Linked DNA regions of Homo sapiens: all the other regions are linked to region 1. The links are contacts of gene promoters, found by promoter capture Hi-C in blood cells and fetal thymus (Javierre and others, 2016). All regions are on one chromosome and are shown on one strand. Each heading gives the region's core, a stretch centred on a gene start or on the middle of the fragment in contact. The rest is flanking DNA. Distances are from core to core; before and after follow the strand shown.

Region 1 (2,646 bases), core at 85-2,584:
GGTGCAGCCCTGGGCGCAAGGCGAGCGACCCAGAGCACACTCATCCACATCCTGACAGGCCCCCTCTCCAGGACCGCCCGGCTCATAGCCAACCCAGCATTCGCAGCGGAAGCCCCCAGGGGTGTTGACACACTCCTGGGCACAGGGGGAGTCCTGGCATTCATCCACGTCCACACAGTCCAGCTGACTCGAGTCCAGCTGGTACCCTTGGGGGCAGCGGCACGTGTAGTTTTTCCCATGGGGTCCCAGGACGCACGTGGCCCCCCCACGACATGGGCTGGAGCTGCAAGGGTTTCGAGAGGCACAGGTCACCAGGTCATCCAGCAGCCGGAATCCTGGTCGGCAGCCGCAGAGGAAGGAGCCATCCCCCCCTTCAAAGCAGTCCTGGTGGCAGCCCCCATTGTTGAAGTTGCAGCCATACTTGGGGCTGACACAGAGGGGGCCCGAGCTGCCCCAGTCGAACACATCGGGGGCCTTCTCCTTGCACAGGAAATAATGACTCTGAGTCTCGTCCTTGTCACCTTCCCCACAGGCTACATTGGCCGCAGAGGCAAAGGGCACAGCCTCCAAGGAGGAACTGGTGGTCTGGAAGGGGGTGGTGTAGGTCACCTGACCTGGGCCCCCCAGGGCCAGAGGCCGGCACATGCCTTTGAAGCTGAACTTGCACACGAAGCCCTCAATGTTACTTCCGGGGGAGCCTGGGCTCCCACAGGGGCCCTCAGACCACTTGGGGAGGCGGCTGGGAAGGAGCGGCTGGGACAGGTCCAGCAGCAGAGACACACAGCGCTTGGAGATGCACGAGTTCCGGAGCTCCTTGTGCCAGTTAGAGTAAGGCGTGTCCTCCCCCCCGCCCACCCAGCTGAAGCCCTTCAGCGGCAGACTAGGGTCCAGGCACTTGCCCTTCTCTCGCTGGAGCCCAATCCAGAACTTGCTCATCCTCGCCGTCAGGGCTGCCTCCCGCCTCAGGAGCTGGGCCAGTACTCGCTGGACGTGCTGGGCCTCCTCCTTGCTCTTCACAGTGGCCAGGTTGCCCCCGTTCTGGTTGCAGTGGTTCTGGGCCTCGGCAGCGCTCAGCTTGCCCGAGTGGGCCGTGTAGCAGGCGGTCCCCACGCAGACCACCGCCTCCGTGTCAGCTCCCGTCCCCGCCCCGGGCTGGGTCAGGAGCAGCAGCAGCAGCAGCAGCAGGCCCATGGAGGTGGCCATCCCGGTCTCTGTGTGGCCCTCTGCGGGAGGCGAGAAGCCCAGCGGCGACAGGAGCTTCTATCTCGGCTCCCAGCTGGGCCCCAAGGGGAGCTGAGGGGTGAGCTGCAGCCACTCCGGCGCAGAGAAGGACACAAAGGCTGAGGGCTTTCCACGTCCCCCTGACCCAAGGCGCATCCTGTACTGTTGTACTTCTTATTTCTCACCGGATGTTGGGGCTTCCTGCAATGAATAGTTCTCTGACTCCTGCTGCCTTCATCACGGTGCTGTTGTTCATAAAAGGAGTCAGGCAGCTCTGCCGGGTCCCTGGCTCAGCACTGTGGAAACAGCGACGGGGGGAAGACGTTACAGCCCCGAGATACTGCCGGCTTGATTTTGGCTCCATTCTCTTTCTCATGGCATGAGGAGCCTCGGAGGCATGCCATGGAGTGAGCAGGGGCTTTGGGGGCTAGGAACTCGAGGAAGCTCCCTTAGTAACCCATAATAAAATTCCACTTTGGTTTGCAAACCACCAAAAGAGAAAAAAAAAATTCTGAGACTTAAGACACAAGGCCATGGATGGTTATAATTTTCAGCCTTTTTTAGAAGCAAACTGGACTTTCCTTTTGCCTAGCTCATGTTCTCTGTTGACTTTGGGAGCCTTTTTTCTTTTATCCTCCCATCGTGAACCTTAAATAGACAGGCATTTTTTAAATAGGATACGGGTCGTGGGAATGTCTGGGTTTTCAACATAATGCCAAGCTCCTCGATAATGTTAATCCAAATTGGGTGAAATTTGGCAGTTCTGGGGGTTTCATAGTGGAAATATTGCATTGTGAGGTGTCAGGGTCACAAAAAGCATCAGAAAGAAAATGAAAATGTGTCCGGCCTCGTGGCGCAGGGCTTGCAGGCTCACTTCCCCCGGCTCAGGATTCCTAGCAAGGGCCGGAAATCTGGGCAGGGAGCGGGAATCGAAGCCCGGGCAGGCCCTCCCGCGACACCGCGACTCGGCAAAAGCCAGGGACTCACAGTGTGCTTTTCCTGCAGCCACAGACCTTTGCTCATTGGTTGGGATCCCCCAGGAGGGGACCCTGAGACAGGATTTGGGGAGACTAGTTTATGTGGGAGGGGAAGTGAAACAGACAAGGAGGAAGCCAACCCATGATGACTTGCTGAGAAGGTGACCCTGGGCTGCTGGAGCCAGTGCCAGGAAACTCTGGGGGCCTGAGGGGACCACACCTCAGCACCATCTCAGCTGAGGGAGAGGCTCCACTGCTCTCCAAGTCCCCTGTCATTGGTAGCAGGCTGTATCTCTCACTTTGAGAGACTGACTATAAATTCTAGCCCTGCCCAGTGACCAGGGGTCTCTCTCACATAAAACTTGTTTCTATGGACAGACACCCTTGTGGCTCTCGTCTGACCCATGTCCAGTTTATTCCTATCAAGACAGCCACTTCCTAAGAGATC
Region 2 (2,646 bases), core at 107-2,606, 420 kb before region 1:
ACAATTAAGTTGGAATATATAAAGGAGTTGTGAAGGTGTCATATCAGGCAGTTTTTGCTGGATAAGAGACCAATTCAAATATAAAGATTTAAAGTAAGAAAAATTACTTATCTGTCAGGTTCCTTGGTTCCTGGACAGCTTTTCTGCTCTGGATCAGCTCAGCTGAAACTGGGTTATCTTAGACAGTCTCACTCACATGCCTGGTGGTTAGCTTGATGTTATCTGAGCAATAGTCATGTGACTCTTTTCCTTCAGCAGGACAACCCAGTCTCATTTTCTCGGAGGCAGAGGTATCCTGAGCAACAAAAGAGGCCAAGATCCAATGAACAAGCACTTTTCAAATCTTCACTGTGCCATATTTTCTAATGTCTCCTTAGCCAAAATATTTGTCCAATCTGGATTTAAGAGGCATCAAATGGACTCCATCTCTTGATGGAATTTGAGTCAGATTGCAAACAGGTGTGAATATATGCTTGGGAGGAGCTTTGGGGCCACTTTTGCAAACCATTTATCAGATGTGCCAGGGTCTCAAGGAAGAGCTAGGGAGTCAAGGCAGGTCAGCAAGGAACATGAGCACTGCTTTGAATGGTGGTGAGATTTCAACAAAGAAGGATGGGTTGAAGTGAAAGGCAGCCCAAGCAGAGGCAGCGTGAGAGGAATGCTCTGGAGAAGAGAAAACTTTGAGCCTGGTAAAGGAATAACTACAGTGTCATTAGAGTGAAAGGATGGTATCAAGAACCCAGAGAAGCAAAGCAGAAAGATGGGAAAATAGAAAATAAACTACCTCAATGAAATTTCAACATCAGCATAGGCATGTACAACAAATGCCATGTGTCAATCTGCATTCTGTTTGATATATAAAGTGTGTAAAAAAAGATTTTTTCCAGGATGCATACAACCTAACAAGGTTGAACTATGAAGAAATAGATTGATAGACTAAATAGACTGATAATAACAAAAGGGACTGAATCGATAGTAAAACATCTTCCATCAAGGAAAAGCCCAGGACCTGATGGCTTCACTGTTGAATTCCACCAAACATTTAAAGAAGAATTAATATCAACTTTTAAAAACTAGGCCAAAAACTTGAACAAAAGGAAATTATTTCAAACCGATTTTGTAAGGCAAGCATTATCCTGATAGCAAAACAAGACAAGGATACAACAACAACAAAATAAATTATGAGCCAATACCCCTGAGGAAAATAGATGTAAAAATCCTCAACAAAATACTAGAAAACCAAATTCAATAGTGTGACACAAAGATCATTCAGCAGGATCAAGTGGGATTCATCCTAGGAATGCAAGGATAGTTCAACATACTCAGATCAATAAACATAATATATCACATTAACAGAATGAAGGATAAAAACCCTATGATTATTTCAATAAATGCAGAAAAAGCATTTGACAAAAATCAACATCCCCTTCATGATAAAAAACAAAAAGAAATTAGGTGCAGAAGGAATGTACCTCAACACAATAAAGGCTTTGCTATATATGAAAAACGCACAGCTAACATTATTCTGGAAGGCAAAATGTTGAAAGCTGTTTCTCTGAGATCAGGAACAAGACAAGGATGCCCACCTTTTCCACTTTTATTCAACAAAGTACTGAAAGTACTAGACAGAGCAAATAGGCAAGAGAAATAAATAGAAAGTATCCAAGTTAAAAAGAATAAAGTTAAATTGTTCCTGCTTATTGATGACATGAGATAATAGATAGAAAATCCTAAGCACCTCACTAAATAGCTGTTAGAACTAGTAAACCAATTCAGTAAAGTTGCAGATTCCAAAAATCAATGTACAAAAGTTAGTAGCATTTCTGTATGCTAATAATAAACTACCTGAAAAAGAAATATAGAAAACAATTCCATTTACAATAGCTACAAAAACACCTAGGAATAAATTTAAGAAAGAGGTGAAATGTCTCTGCAATAAAAACTATTAAACGTTGGTGAAACAAATTTAAGAAGACATAAATAAATGAAAAGGAGGTTCCATGTTCATGGATTAGAAGAATTAATATTGTTGAAATGTCTATACTACTAAACATATTTATAGATTTAATGCCATCTGTATCAAAGTATCAATGATATTCTTCACAGAAATACAAAAAACAATTATAAAATTAATATGAAATCACAAAAGACCCCCAATAGCCAAAGCAATCTTAAGCAAAAAGAACAAAACTGTAAGGCATCACACTACCTAACTTCAAAGTACACTATAAAGCTGTAATAACCAAATCAGCATGGTACTGGCACAAAATCAGACAGATGGACTAATGGAACACAAAAGAGAACACAGCAATAAATCTATACACTTACAGCCAACTAATTTTAGACAAAGATGCCCAAGAACACACAATGGGAAAAGGACAGTCTGTTCAATAAATAGTGTTGGTAAAACTGGGTGTCCAAAGAAGAAGAATGAAACTAGATTTGTATCTGTCATCATATATAAAACCAACAGAAATTAACTCAAGATGGATTAAAAACTTAAATGTAGGCTGGTGTGGTGGCTCAAGCCTGTAATCCCAGCACTTTGAGAGGCCAAGGCAGGCAGATCATGAGGTCAAGAGATCGAGACCATCCTGGCCAACATGGTGAAACCCCATCTTTGCTAAAAATACAAAAATTAGCTGA
Region 3 (2,646 bases), core at 89-2,588, 400 kb before region 1:
TCCCACCTCTTTCTTACCCCAGGGCCTTGGCACTTGCTTTCCTTCTGCTTTAAATATTCCTTCCCTGGAGCTCCATGTGGCTGCCACTTTCTCATCCCTCAAACTTTCTGTTGCCCTCTCAGGTAACATGGGAACAAAAAGCAAATGTTACTTTATCAGAGGCTCTCATTGAAAATCATAGCTAATGCACCCACTCACCCCACCCTCACTGCAATTTACTTTACTTTCTATCATGTTGTCCTGTTTATTTGTTTCACATCGTGTATCCCAATCTGCAATGATTTCCTTTACTTGTTTGCATAGTTTGAACTCACGACAAGGTCAAACGTAAGGTGGTTTTAAAATAATGTGTTTCTTTATCATTTTTGGAGCTAAATTTTGGGCAAGGGGACATGGGTGTTAGAGTTTGTGAATTCATCTTCTTGCAGTGGATGTGCCCTCGCTCACTGTTACTCATCCTCCTGAATGGGGTCAGGGCCTGTTTTAAATGGTAGGTGGCATTTCTCTGCTGTTAAGCATGTGATTTTCTCTGCATCAGAATCCTGGGCAGTCACTGTCTGGGTGGCAGTGGGCACCCTCTTCTGTCAGTGCTTCAAGGGTGACAAGCATCTCATTGCAAAACAGACATGATTCTTTTCACTTTATGACATGTTGATCAAACCCCTCAGATAAATTGTTGGTGCCCCATCCTGTATCCCCTCAGCCTACCTGTGTTCATCTTCAGCCATGAGGGGCAGATTGCTGTAAATTGACAACTTCCCATTCAAGCCCTTGTCTCTGCCTGAGGGCTTCCCCATCACAGGAGCCTGCTTCACTGTGAATGTACTTACCTAGAAAGGGGAGCACAGGCAAGACCCCCAGCCCAGAGAATTGAGTTTGGATGCTCACACGGGTAACCTGCCCTTGACGCCTCCATTATCTTTTTCCTTGCCTCCTCCATTCACTTCCCTACTCCCTCATTTGTGCTTCCTGGGACCACCTTCCACATAAGCTGCCTGCACCCAAGCCCTTGTCTCTGGATCCACTTTGGGAGGATCCACACCAAGCAGAACTCAATTCCCTTTTTCTTAGCAGCACTTCCTCTTTGTGCCACATCAAGATCCACTTCTGTGGAAAAAGCCTGTGTGGGCATGGGGGCTTAGGCCTGCCAAAGTCTAAGAAACCACGTGGACCACACCTGGGAATTGTTCCCCTGGGGAGTTGGAGACGTGGGCATTTTGTCCTCTACTCGTGTCCCTACCCATGTCCACCTCTAGCCCTTCCTGCCCTCTTGGCCATTTACCTTCCCTGTTACCCTTTGCTCACCGTCTTCCTCACCAGAATGGAGAACTGGCCCCTGGCAAGCTCGCCCCATGGCTGCACCTTTAAAGTTGTCTTCTCCAAGCGTGTGCTGGGCTGTCAGCAGCGTCACCCAGGAGCTGGAAGTGCAAATGCTCAGGTCCTTCCCCAGACCTGCTAAATCAGAGACTCAGAGGGTGGGCTCCACCCTTGTGTGCCCACAGCCCTCCAGGGGACTCCAGGGCTTGCTGCAGCCCTAGAAGCACTGCTCTAAAGCCATACTAATTAGCATTAGATGTATAGTTCACAACAGCTTGTTCTGCTTCTAACCACTGGTCGGAGGGGTTGGGGCCTGATTATGTAACAGCATATGATGACTCATTAATGATGAGAGATGTTCTCGTGTTTACCAATATCTTCATATCAGTTTGCCAAAGTAATTCTTGATACCACACCCAGATGCTGGGAAGAACAGGGGCTTTGGGAACTGAAGCCCTCACATTGACCTCCAGCCCTGTCAGTGCCCCATGCATCCCTGGGGTACCTTTCCCCATCTGTGCATGCTGTTCCTGGGTGCCGCTATGACCCCCACAGCCAGTGCCAGCTTCTCTCTGTGAGCAGCTGTCCCAAGGCTGCTGGAGCCCTTGTGCTCACCCTGCTTGCATGGGGGCCTGAGACAGTCCTTACCCAGTGATGGGTGGATGCAAGGGACGCAAGACATCCCTCAGGTTCAATGATTCAAGAGAACTCATAGGAACCAGAAAGGTCACCAGATTCACGATTACCTCTTACTACACATGGTTCCAACACTACACAGCAAGTCGAAGTCAGCAGTGGGAAGATGCACCTAGGGTGGGTCCCAGGAGAGCTCTAGCTGTGGTGCTCCAGTGTCCTCTCCTAGTGGGGCTCTGCAGCAGTGCTTAGTTCTCCCAGTAATGACATGGGGCAGCATGCATGGAATATTGCTGACCAGGGACACTGACCTGAGCCTTGGCGTCCAGGGTTTTTATTGAAGGCTTGGTCACGTAAACATGATGGACAATCTACATGGCTGACCTGGTCTCCAGCCCCTTGACAGATCAAGCTGATACAAGACCTCCACTGTGAATCCTATCCTTAGCATCAACTACCTGGTGTGGCCTAAGGCCTCGGTAAACAGACACTTATCAGACAGGACATTAGAGATTAAAGGACTTAGAGGCTGCCTTCCAGGAGCTGTGCCAGGGCCACACCTTTCTTTGGGCAAGGTTAACCCTTTACTACTTGCAGAATATGAATATTCCAGCTCCTTCATCGCCAGTGCGGCCTCTCTGGGGTGTGACCAGCCCTGACTCTGTCTCAGAACTCCCTAGCAGGAGGAAGCCAGAA
Region 4 (2,646 bases), core at 48-2,547, 380 kb before region 1:
TCTAGTAATTTTATAGTTTCAGGTCTTACAATTAGGTCTGGGATCCATTTTAAGTTTATTTTTGTAGAGTGAGAGTTTTATTCATCTGCATATGAATATTCAGTTTTCTAAAGACCACTTATTGAAGAGACAGTCCTCTCCCTCAGTGAGCGACCTAGGCAACTCTGTTAAAAATCAGTTGGCTATAGATATGTGAATTAACTTCTGGGTCCACTGTACTGTACAATTGGTATTTGTGTCTGTTTTTATGCCAGTACCACACTGTTTTGGTTACTATAGCTTTGTGGTATATCTTGTAGTCTGGTAAAGTAATTGCCTCCAGTTTTGTTCTTTCTGCTCAAGATTGCTTTGGGTATTTAGAGTCTTTTATGTAGTTTAGATTTTTTTTCTATTTTTGTCGTTTTGTCAAAAATATCTTAACTATTTTGATACTTTATTTTCTTTTTTTGTTGTGTCATTTTCTGGTTTTGGTCTCAGGGTTATGCTGGCTTTGTAAAATGAGTTAGGAAGAACTCACTCCTCTTCAGTTTTTTTGAATAGTTTGAGAAGAATTGGTATGCATTTTTCTTTAAAGATTTGATGGAATTCAGCAGTGGAGTCATCTGGTCCTAGACTTAACTTTATTGGGAGACTTTTTATTACCTATTTAATATTTTCACGCAATATTGGTCTATTCAGGTTTTCTATTTCTTCTTGGTTCAATTTTGATAGGATGTATGTGTCCAGAAACTTATCCTTTTCCTCTAAGTTTTTGAATGTATTGGCATATAGTTGTTTATAGTAGTTTTTAAGGCTCCTTTTTATTTCTGTGCTATCCTTTATGATGTATCCTTTTCCATTTTTGATTTCATGTACTTGAGTATGTTCCCTTTTTTTTCTTAGTCTAGCTAATGGTTTGCCAATTTTATCATTTCAGAAAAATCTATTTTTTGTTTCATTTATCTTTTGCATTTTTTTTGTTTTAATTTCATTTATTTTTGCTTTTTTTTTTTTTTTTTTTTGACAGAGCTTCACTCTGTCACAGGCTGGAGTACAGTTGTACTATCATAGTTCACTGCAGTCTTGAACTTAGGCTCAAAACATCCTCCCACCCCAGCCTCCCAAGTAGCTAAGACTAGAGGCATGAATCACCACTCCTGGCTAATTTTATTTTAAATTTTTTGTAGATACATGGTCTCACTATGTTGACAAGGCTGACATTGAACTCCTGACCCCAAATGATCCTCCCTTCCTGGCCTCCCAAAATGCTGGGATTACTGACATGAGCCACCATGCCTGGCCTTGATCTTTATTATTTCTCTCCTATGAATTTGGCATTTGGTTTGTTCTTGCTTTTCTGATTTCATGAGGCGCATCATGAGGCTGTTTATGTGAAATCTTTCTAATTTTTTGATGTAGGCATTTATTGCTATAAACTTGCCTCTTAATACTGCTTTTGCCATGACCTATAGGTTTTGCTATGTTGTGTTTCTATTTTCGTTTGTTTCAAGGAATTTTTAACTATCATTATTGATTTCTTCCTTCACCCATTGGCCTTTTAGGAGAATGCTGTTTAATTTCCATATATTTACATTATTTTGAATATTCTTGCTATTGATGTCTAGTTTTATTTTATTTCATTGTAGTCAATAAGGTACTTGATATAATTTTGATTTATAAATTTTTTTTCAAACTTGTTTTGTATTCTAACATGTGGTCAATCCTAAAGAATTTTCCATGCACTGATGAAAAGAATGTGTATTCTCCAGCTGTTGGGTGAAATGTTCTATAAATATCTGTTAGGTCCACTTGGTCTATAGTGCAGTTTAAATCCAATGTTGTTGTTGTTGTTTTAATTGTCATTGTTAATTTACTGTCTAGAAGGTCTGCACAATGCTGAGATTGGGGTGTTCAAGTCCCCAACAATTATGGTAGCTTCTCCTTTAGATCTAATAATATTTGCTTTATATATCTGGGTATTATTAGGTGCATATTAGGTGCATATATATTTATATATATATTTATAATTGTTATAGTCTCTGGCTGAATTGATCCCTTTGTTATTACATAATGTCTTTCTTTGTCTTTTTTGACAGCTTGTGACTTGAAGTCTATTTTTGATACAAGCATAGCTACTCCTTGCTTTTGGTTTTGTCCAAAAAACCAAAAGGGATATATTTCTTAGATACATTTTTATCCCTTTACTTTCAGGCTACATGTACCTTTACAGATAAGATGAGTTTCTTGTAGGTAGCATATAGTTGGGTCTTGGTTTTTTATTCATTCAGTTAGTCTACATCTTTTATATGGGTGAATTTATCCTGTTCACATTCAAGGTTATTATTGATAAGTGAGGACTTACTCCTGTCATTTTATTGATTGTTTTCTGCTTGTTTTGTATATCCTTTGTTCCTTACTTTCACTCTTATTGTTTATTTTTGTAGTTGGGTGGTTCTCCATAGTGATAAGGTTTGATTTCCTTCTCTTCCTTCTTTGTGTATCAGCTCTACCAGTGAGTTTTATAGTTTTCTGTGTTTTCTGATGGTAGTTATTGTCTCTTCACTTACACATGTAAGACTCTCTTGAGCATTTCTTGTAAGGCCAGTCTAGTGGTGTTGAATTCCCTTTGTTTTTGCTTATCTGTGAAATATTTAATTTCTCCATTTC
Region 5 (2,646 bases), core at 100-2,599, 360 kb before region 1:
TCTTCATTCTCCTTTTAAAATGCCAGTTTACCTGCGTACAAATGGAAGTTGAGTTCCCTTCATGGAGGACTCTTTTCCCTATTTCACTAGTTATTACTAAAATCGGTCCTTACCCCTTTACCTAGTGTCGGGCTGTTTATCTTTGACAGTAACAATAGCTCATCATGGCTTTACTTTCCATTTTCCTGATGGCTGATGAGGTGGAACATCTTTTCACATGTATTTGGGTTTCTTCTTCTCTGAGGTATCTATTCAGGTTCCTTTGCTCATTTTTTTTAAGCTGTCTGTTTCTTAAGTGTTTTTATATAAGTTTTTTTTTCCCTCCTAAAATGGCATGTGAAGAACAAATTATCCACAGAGGTTTAGAATAGAATAGATTAGACATGGACAGTTTAAAGGTGAAAGAATAGAGCCTAAGAACAATGAAAATGATAAAAGTGTTGGTCTCTTTCGAGGATTTAGAAAGAATGGGATTATGCAATGGATCTTTTGTTATCTTCCAAAAGAAATCCATTTCTTGGGAACAAGATGAGCATAAAAGTAATGAAACACAAATGACTTCGTGACTTATATGAATGATGGAAAAAGATGATTATTGGAAAGACATTATACTAATGTATAATAATAGAAAGCAAATAAAAAGAGTAAAAGTTTGGAGAAGGTTATGAGTTCTATGTAAAACTCTTCATAAAATATTCTACTCTTTCTACACTATGATAAGGCTCACAAAAATACATAACATAAAAATAGTCATATTTTATCCAGTGGGTTTTAAATATTTATGGAAGTCCTCATGATTCTCTTTAATAATGACATTTTTGTATATAAAATGTCAAGTGATCACTTCCTTAAGCTTATGTTTTCTTGGGCTGACATGGCCCATTACCACATGTTCCTGCTGCAATCCATCCCTGTCTCCTTTTGAGGCTGACAGCAGGGTCAAGGGCTCCCTGAAGGGCTTGTTCCATTGGGTGTGGGACTTCCTGCCCAAGGGCCTTGCCTTTCCTGAAGGAAAAGTGAGGCTGTCCCAAGGGGAAGGAAGAGGAGCTCAGAGCTAGTAGAGAGGCCCACTCCCAGGGACATCCATGCAGGGGGTGAGGCACTGCTGGGATGCTTCTGATGGGGACAGTCCAGCCAGCATGCCATTGCAGCCACAGCCATCCCAGGGCAGTGCCAGTTGCAACTCAGTCCCCCCAGCAGCTGAGTACAGACGTCACCAATTGGTGGCCCACCAGCAGAGAAGGGCTGCCAGGGGCTTGGCCGTGGAGCCTACAGGGCACCTGCTCAGCCAGCCTGCTCCAGTCCCCCATGCTGGGGTGGGTGCTTCAGAGCTTTCAGAGCAGATTGAAGGGTGTGGAAAGAACAGAAGTGAGATAAGAAAGGAGAAAGTGTTAAGGACCCGAAAGAAAAGTCATGTGAACACAAAGAGAGTCCACAGCAATGTGTCCCATCCAACAATCCTTTGACCATGGGGAAGCAGCCTTTCCTTTGGGGTCATGGCTGGTGTGCTGGGTCCAGGGCTGCCTTGCTGAGATCTGCTGAAGCAGAACACAGGTGCCAGCAGAGCACGGGGTTTGGGATCAGATAGGCTCTTTACTGGGCCATGGGACCCTAGGCAAGATTTTTTTGTTTAAATCTTTCTTTATTTCAATAGCTTTGGGGGTACAAGTGGTTTTTGCTTACATGGATGAATTGTATAGTGAGGAAGTCTGAGGGTGATGAGGCACCCATCACCTGAGTAGTATATATTGTACCCAATATATAGTATTTATCCCTCACTCCCTCCCACCTTTTCTCTTCTGAGTCTTCAAAGTCCGTTACACCACTGTATACTTCTGTGTACTCAAAGCTTAGCTCCCACTTGTGGTGAGAACATGTGGTATTTGATTTTCCATTCCAGAGTTACTTCACTTAGAGTAATGAAGGCAAGATGTTTAATGTGTCTGCAGATCAGCTTCTGTTTGTGCTGTGCTCATGAGCTGAATCACTGCAGGCTGAATCCCAGCTGCCCAGCTATAAATGTTTGCCTCAAAGAAGGTGCTCAGACCAGGTGCGGTGGCTCAAGCCTGTAATCCCAGCACTTTGGGAGGCTGAGGTGGGTGGATCATGAGGTCAGGAGATTGAGACCATCCTGGCCAACATGGTGAAACACCGTCTCTACTAAAAATACAAAAATTAGCTGGGGGTGGTGGTGAATGCCTGTAATCCCAGCTACTTGGGAGGCTGAGGCAGGAAAATCACTTGAACCTGGGAGGCGGAGGTTGCAATAAGGCAAGATCATGCCACTGCACTCCAGCCTGGGCAACAGAGAGACTCTGTCTCAAAAAAAAAATGAAATAAAATAAAAAAAGATGCTCGGTGAATAGGAGACTCCTTTGAGCGCTCAGTATGTAGGTTGGGCAGCAGCTAAAGAATGATGCAGATGCCTTCTTTATGGAGGATTTTGTTTTGGAGAAGCCCCTCTCACCTGCCTGACTTCCCTGTGGCAGAGGTCAAGTCCAGTTCTCAGAGCTCACACCTCTGTCCAGTCAGCCTGGCAGCCCCTCCCAGAGGCACATCAGGGCAGGAGGTGAGGGTCAGTCCTGGTAGATCTGGAACCAGTACTGGCCTCTCGAAAGCACCAGTAGACAGTGATACCTGCCTGGG
Region 6 (2,646 bases), core at 85-2,584, 330 kb after region 1:
GAAAACTCTCTGCGCTGGGCACGGTGGCTCATGCCTGTAATTCCAGCACTTTGGGAGGCCGAGGTGGACGGATCATGAGGTCAGAAGTTCAAGACCAGCCTGGCCAACATGGTGAAACCCTGTCTCTACTAAAAATACAAAAATTAGCTGGGTGTGGTGGCACCCATCTGTAATCCAAGCTACTCAGGAGACTGAGGCAGCAGAATCACTTGAACCCAGGAGGCAGAGGTTGCAGTGAGCCAAGATCATGCCACTGCACTCCAGCCTGGGCAACAGAGCAAGACTCCATTTCAAAAAAAAAGAAAACTCTCTGTACTCCTTGTACTTTTCTACCGTGTACAGCTACAATGTTCATAATAAGCAAATATTTAAATAAAATGCCTAGTACAGTGGCTAACACCTGTAATCGCAGCACTTTGGGAGGCTGAGGTCAGCAGAGCAGATCGCTTGAGTCCCGGAGTTGGAGACAAGCCTGGGCAACATAGCAAGACCCTGTCTCTACAAAAAATACAAAATTAGTCAGGCATGGTAGTGCATGCCTGTAGTCCTAGCTACTTGGGAGGCTGAGGTGGGAGGATCTCTTGAGCTCAGGAGGTCAAGGTTGAAGTGAGCAGATATCTCGCCACTGCCTTCCAGCCTAGGCAACAGAGTGAGAGCTCGTCTCAAAAAAATAAATACATAAATAAAACGGAAGAAAGCGACTTAAACTCTCCTTTACTTGGTATAGCTTTGCTCTTGAAAACTAGGTAAGAATAAAAGAAAAAACATCAGCATTTGTATTAGCATTAATACATTCATTCTCTCCACCAATATTTACCACGTGCCTAACGCATGCCTCAGGCTGGGTGAGGTGTTAGCCACAGCAACAAAACAGGCAGACTTCCAAGGAGCCACATATGATTACTGGCCCTCCCTCTCTCCAGAGTAACTGCACCTCACAGAGCTCACAAGAATGAAAGAATATGTGGAGAAAACTGCAAAAATGCAACAAGAAAAAGGCCAGTCTGGTAACAGTTTATCATTTGATACCAAGCTGTAACAACCTAAAATCAGAAAACCAAACAATTATAATAAAGTTATATAGCTCTGTGCAACTGAATAAGCATTCTGACCTCATTCAATCCTTAACAATCGTGAAAAACAGATTCTGTCTCTCTGCCCATCTGAAAACTAAAAAAAACAAGTTCTGAGTATGATTTACTTGACTATAGTCACCAAAATAGTAAATGAGAGAACTTGAGCCTCTACCTGGTCTCCCCATGAATAATAATATAATTATATTTCTTACGTATATTATATAATTTATAAAAATAATTGTTCAATTTATAATCGATTTCTTTTGAGAAAGATACACAAATATACGTATATATTTCTTATACTGTATCACCTGTCTCTGTCAGTAAACCTGAGCCTAATAATTTTTTTAAAAGTTCAATCTGCATTTGAACAAGAATTGTAACTGAGGAAAACCTAAATGCTTCACCTATGTTATCACATGGCCCCACCATATTTTGGCCAAACTTAAAAGCAATCTTTGTTGAAATAAACACAAGTGAAGAATACTGATAATTTACAGTCTACAATGCTTAAGAAATATTCACAATTTTCACAAACAACCAACAAATTATAGATTCATAATTATTTCAAGATAACCCAATGGGGCCTTTCATTAAATTTACATTGACATTGCCAAATTTGTAGCTCTTGTGTAAACTCAGACTAAACACTGAAAGGCAAAGGAAGACAGCATTAACCATAAAGAACATCTTTCCACTGGCATTCTTTTTTTTTTTTTTTTTTGAGACGGAGTCTCGCTCGGGGGCCCAGGCTGGAGTGCAGTGGCACAATCTCAGCTCACTACAACCTCCACCTCCAAGGTTCAAGTGATTCTCCTGCCTCAGCCTACCAAGTAGCTGGTATTACAGGCGCCCGCCACCACGCCAGGCTAATTTTTGTATTTTTAGTAGAGACGGGGTTTCATCATGTTGGCTAGGCTGGTCTCAAACTCCTGACCTCAAGTGATCCACCCGCCTCGGCCTCCCAGAGTGCTGGGATTACAGGCGTGAGCCACTGCACCTGGCCTCCACTGTCAGTCTTAAGCACTTTCTTCTATGTGCATTGTGCAGGTTATTCCCAACCGGGTCTCATAGCAACAAGATGGAGGGGATAGTATTATAAGAGGCTTTTCCAATTCAAAACTATCTTAATGTCAGACTCAGGCCGATTTAAAATCATACCAGTAGTTCATTAACATTATAAACTGGAATTTGAAATTAACTACAAAATTCCATAGCTCATCCCTGGCAACAAACTAAAGGACAAGACAACTCCTTTGGAAGTAGTTTTACTAAACGTACTATACTACAAACTTGAGAAAAAGTTTTAATTCCACAACTACAAAAGCACATTACTGCTTAACGGGCAATTAAGCAGAAACACAAACCACCACAACAGTGGTTTCCTGCAATGTTTGCATCCCTTGTCAGCTCTTTTCCTGGGGAGGAAGGTGGGGATGGGAAAGGAATATTGATACCTTACCTATCAAGCAGATAAGGCAGAGGATTTGTGCCTTACACAGAGAAGAAATATTTGACTGACATGTTCTCATAAATACATATGCATATTTTCATCTAATTTTACTGAAAG
Region 7 (2,646 bases), core at 96-2,595, 320 kb before region 1:
GACTGTACACGTTGAGAGGGTGAATGGTATCTCAATAAAGTGGTTAAAGAGAGAGAGACAGAGACAAAGAAACAGAGACAGAGAGTCCGAGAGAAAGAGAGAGAGACATAGAGACAGAGAGAGACACAGAGAGAGGGAGACATAGGGAGAAACAGAGAGAGAGATATAGAGACAGAGAGACACACAGAGACAGAAAGAGAGAGACACAGAGACAGAGAGAAACATAGAGACAGAGACAGAGAGACATAGAGACAGAGAGAGACAGAGAGAGAGAGAGACAGAGACAGAGAGAGACAGAGAGAGAGACATAGAGACAGAGACAGAGAGAGACATAGAGACAGAGAGAGACACAGAGACAGAGACAGAGAGAGACATAGAGACAGAGGCAGAGAGAGACACAGAGACAGAGAGAGAGAGAGACGTAGAGGCAGAGAGAGACAGAGCACTGGGGCAAGATGAGCTCCCACCGCCACCCCAGGAAGGGGCAGTCTGTGTCAGCTTCATTTCCTGGGAAGTAGAAATGTTAACCAAGGGAAATGGATGTTTTCTGCAGGCAAAGAGAAGGTCCCAAAATCCTCAAATTAATCATGCCCAAAGTTTGCATTATATAAAAGCAACACCTAACATGTCAGTGGATGTACAAAGGCACCTGGAAGGCATAGACAGGCCCAGGCCTGTAGAGTGTGCCCCACAGGCTGAGAGAGGCCACATGGCCAGGGAAGGGTGGGGCAAGACAAGGCCTCATGAGGGCCTGGGCAGGTCTGCCTGGCTCACAGCTGTGTCCTGGGGTCACCCCCGGCTGGGCACTTATGACACACTCAGAATGTGGAGTGTGTATCAAGGGGACAGCGTTCCATGTGGAAAGGGTTTGATCCCACAGGGGCAGGGAGCAGAAATATCTTCAAGTTGGACCACCATACTTTAATGTTAACAGACATCAGTGCCAGAGAGTCCTGTTCTAATTCTCTGACTTTCCCTGTCCTCCCTAATCAGGGGAAGTGGAGAGATGGCAGACTCCAGATTCTGGGAGCCCTGCATTCCTCTGTGCTCAGGACCCAGCACTCAGGCTGGCACCACTGTCTATTTGTGTCTGTCTCTCTGTCTGTCTGTCTTTTGTTGTAGCGGTTCTTTCGTTTTAAGTGAACTGGTTTCCCCAATGTGAGCAAGAAGAAATCCTACATGAAAAACATAAACGTCTTAGCGTGGCCAGATGAGACCCCTACACATCCCAAGGAGAGGCCGGGTGTGTCAGCTCAACTCACCAGGAAGTGCCTGGAGTGATCTCTGTGCCTTTATTCAAATGCCAGAGAGTTCACCGGCAAAGCATAACTTTGAGAGAATTTCTGAATCATTCCCAACAAGTGAGAAAGTGCAATTTAATAGAAAAAATTCCACAAATGGAGAGAATGCTGCTGAGCCTGTAACCTCAGACAGTGTCATGCCCAGGCCCCCATCTCTGGCCCCACGCCCGTGTGCCCACAGCCTGCCTGCCATGGGAACCCCCCAAATACCTTTTTATCCTGTTACACCCTGGGTTGGGGAAGGGAGTGGTGGTGGACTCTCCTGGATAGACTCAGTACCAAACCCTCTTGACCCAATTCAAAGGGTGGGACGGGATCGGAAGCAGGAAAAGAGCCATGGGTCAGGCAGCCCCTGGATAGATAGGTAGGGAGGGCCTGAGTGCCTACTGCCCCGTGCTGGGCGGTTCCAGGAAATTCCAGGCTGGCCAACCTAACTGGCTGCTATTTTAAGAGCTGTGCTGAGGCAAACCTAGAGAGAAACTCAGCTCAGTAAAAGCAAGACAATTGTATCAGAGAAGGCAAATCAGGCCACTCGAACTGTCCCACACCTTCTGGGATGAAGCCAGGGGCACAGGACTAGGCTGTGACTGTGATGCCCCTTTGACAACTGACCAATAGTTCATGGTCCCCCTAGAGCCTGGGCCAAGCCCTCAGCTCCCTGAAGTACCCACTTAACAGAAGGAGGAGGCTGTATGTCCCTTGGGATGGACTGTAGACACCAGTGCCCCCTTTAGATGGTCAGCAGTGCCTCCCAACCCAACCCATCATATATATATATATATATATATATATTTTTTTTTTTTTTTTTTTTAGATGGAATCTCACTCTGTTACCCGGGCTGGAGTGCAATGACGCCATCTCAGCTCACTGCAACCTCCGCCTCCCAGGTTCAAGCGATTCTCCTGCCTCAAGCGATTCTCCTGCCTCACCATCCCAAGTACCTGGGACTACAGGCACACACTACCACTCCCAGCTAATTTTTGTATTTTTAGTTGAGACAGGGTTTCACCATGTTGGCCAGGATGGTCTCGATCTCCTGACCTCATGATCCGCCCACCTCAGCCTCTCAAAGTGTTGGGATTAAAAGCGTGAGCCACCGTGCCCAGCCCCAACCCATCATCTTAATACCATGACTCTGTAGAGCAGAAGTTCCCAAATGAGGTGGCCCCACTCGGGTTCACTTTCCTGACAAGTCCAGGATGATTGCTCTGATCTCAGGGCCATGGTCACCTGCTGTCCACTTGCAGACCTGGACGGCGTGAGGCCTGGGTCTTCATCTGGTGATCCGGTGTCACTCAGCATCACTCATGCCTCCTGGTGGCTCCTCCCTTAACCATCAGATGAG

Evidence for each region. The method cuts DNA at HindIII sites, captures the fragments that hold promoters and counts their contacts. A CHiCAGO score of 5 or more calls a contact.
Region 2: a fragment that was not itself captured here is called in contact with the fragment with the promoter of CD93 in region 1 in 1 of 17 cell types (neutrophils); the score reaches 5.4 in neutrophils.
Region 3: a fragment that was not itself captured here is called in contact with the fragment with the promoter of CD93 in region 1 in 7 of 17 cell types (neutrophils, endothelial precursors, M1 macrophages and 4 more); the score reaches 13.7 in neutrophils.
Region 4: a contact is called between a fragment that was not itself captured here and the fragment with the promoter of CD93 in region 1, in 1 of 17 cell types (neutrophils). The highest score is 7.0, in neutrophils.
Region 5: a fragment that was not itself captured here is called in contact with the fragment with the promoter of CD93 in region 1 in 3 of 17 cell types (endothelial precursors, M1 macrophages and erythroblasts); the score reaches 10.4 in endothelial precursors.
Region 6: a contact is called between a fragment that was not itself captured here and the fragment with the promoter of CD93 in region 1, in 2 of 17 cell types (neutrophils and monocytes). The highest score is 7.1, in neutrophils.
Region 7: a contact is called between a fragment that was not itself captured here and the fragment with the promoter of CD93 in region 1, in 1 of 17 cell types (neutrophils). The highest score is 5.3, in neutrophils.

The regions. Positions count from the first base shown.
Region 1 is chr20:23,084,990-23,087,635 of GRCh38, forward strand. It overlaps CD93 (CD93 molecule), which reads right to left and starts at 1,335. Exons shown (of 2, transcript NM_012072.4): 1 at 1-1,335. The coding sequence starts at 1,203. RefSeq lists an enhancer at 1,319-1,498. The HindIII fragment of the contact is 6,182 bases long and covers 1-2,646 here.
Region 2 is chr20:22,669,226-22,671,871 of GRCh38, forward strand. It overlaps LINC01747 (long intergenic non-protein coding RNA 1747), which reads right to left. Exons shown (of 3, transcript NR_146527.1): 3 at 1-295. Among named protein-coding and RNA genes, the nearest start is that of LINC01747, 15 kb to the right of the region's middle. The HindIII fragment of the contact is 3,211 bases long and covers 1-2,646 here.
Region 3 is chr20:22,687,032-22,689,677 of GRCh38, forward strand. All of the region lies in intron 1 of LOC124904963 (a long non-coding RNA gene), which reads left to right. Among named protein-coding and RNA genes, the nearest start is that of LINC01747, 3.0 kb to the left of the region's middle. The HindIII fragment of the contact is 4,909 bases long and covers 1-2,646 here.
Region 4 is chr20:22,704,517-22,707,162 of GRCh38, forward strand. No RefSeq gene overlaps it. Among named protein-coding and RNA genes, the nearest start is that of LINC01747, 20 kb to the left of the region's middle. The HindIII fragment of the contact is 9,619 bases long and covers 1-2,646 here.
Region 5 is chr20:22,721,966-22,724,611 of GRCh38, forward strand. No RefSeq gene overlaps it. Among named protein-coding and RNA genes, the nearest start is that of LINC01747, 38 kb to the left of the region's middle. The HindIII fragment of the contact is 996 bases long and covers 852-1,847 here.
Region 6 is chr20:23,415,302-23,417,947 of GRCh38, forward strand. All of the region lies in intron 1 of NAPB (NSF attachment protein beta), which reads right to left. Among named protein-coding and RNA genes, the nearest start is that of NAPB, 4.9 kb to the right of the region's middle. The HindIII fragment of the contact is 3,803 bases long and covers 1-2,646 here.
Region 7 is chr20:22,762,041-22,764,686 of GRCh38, forward strand. No RefSeq gene overlaps it. Among named protein-coding and RNA genes, the nearest start is that of LINC01747, 78 kb to the left of the region's middle. The HindIII fragment of the contact is 7,405 bases long and covers 1-2,646 here.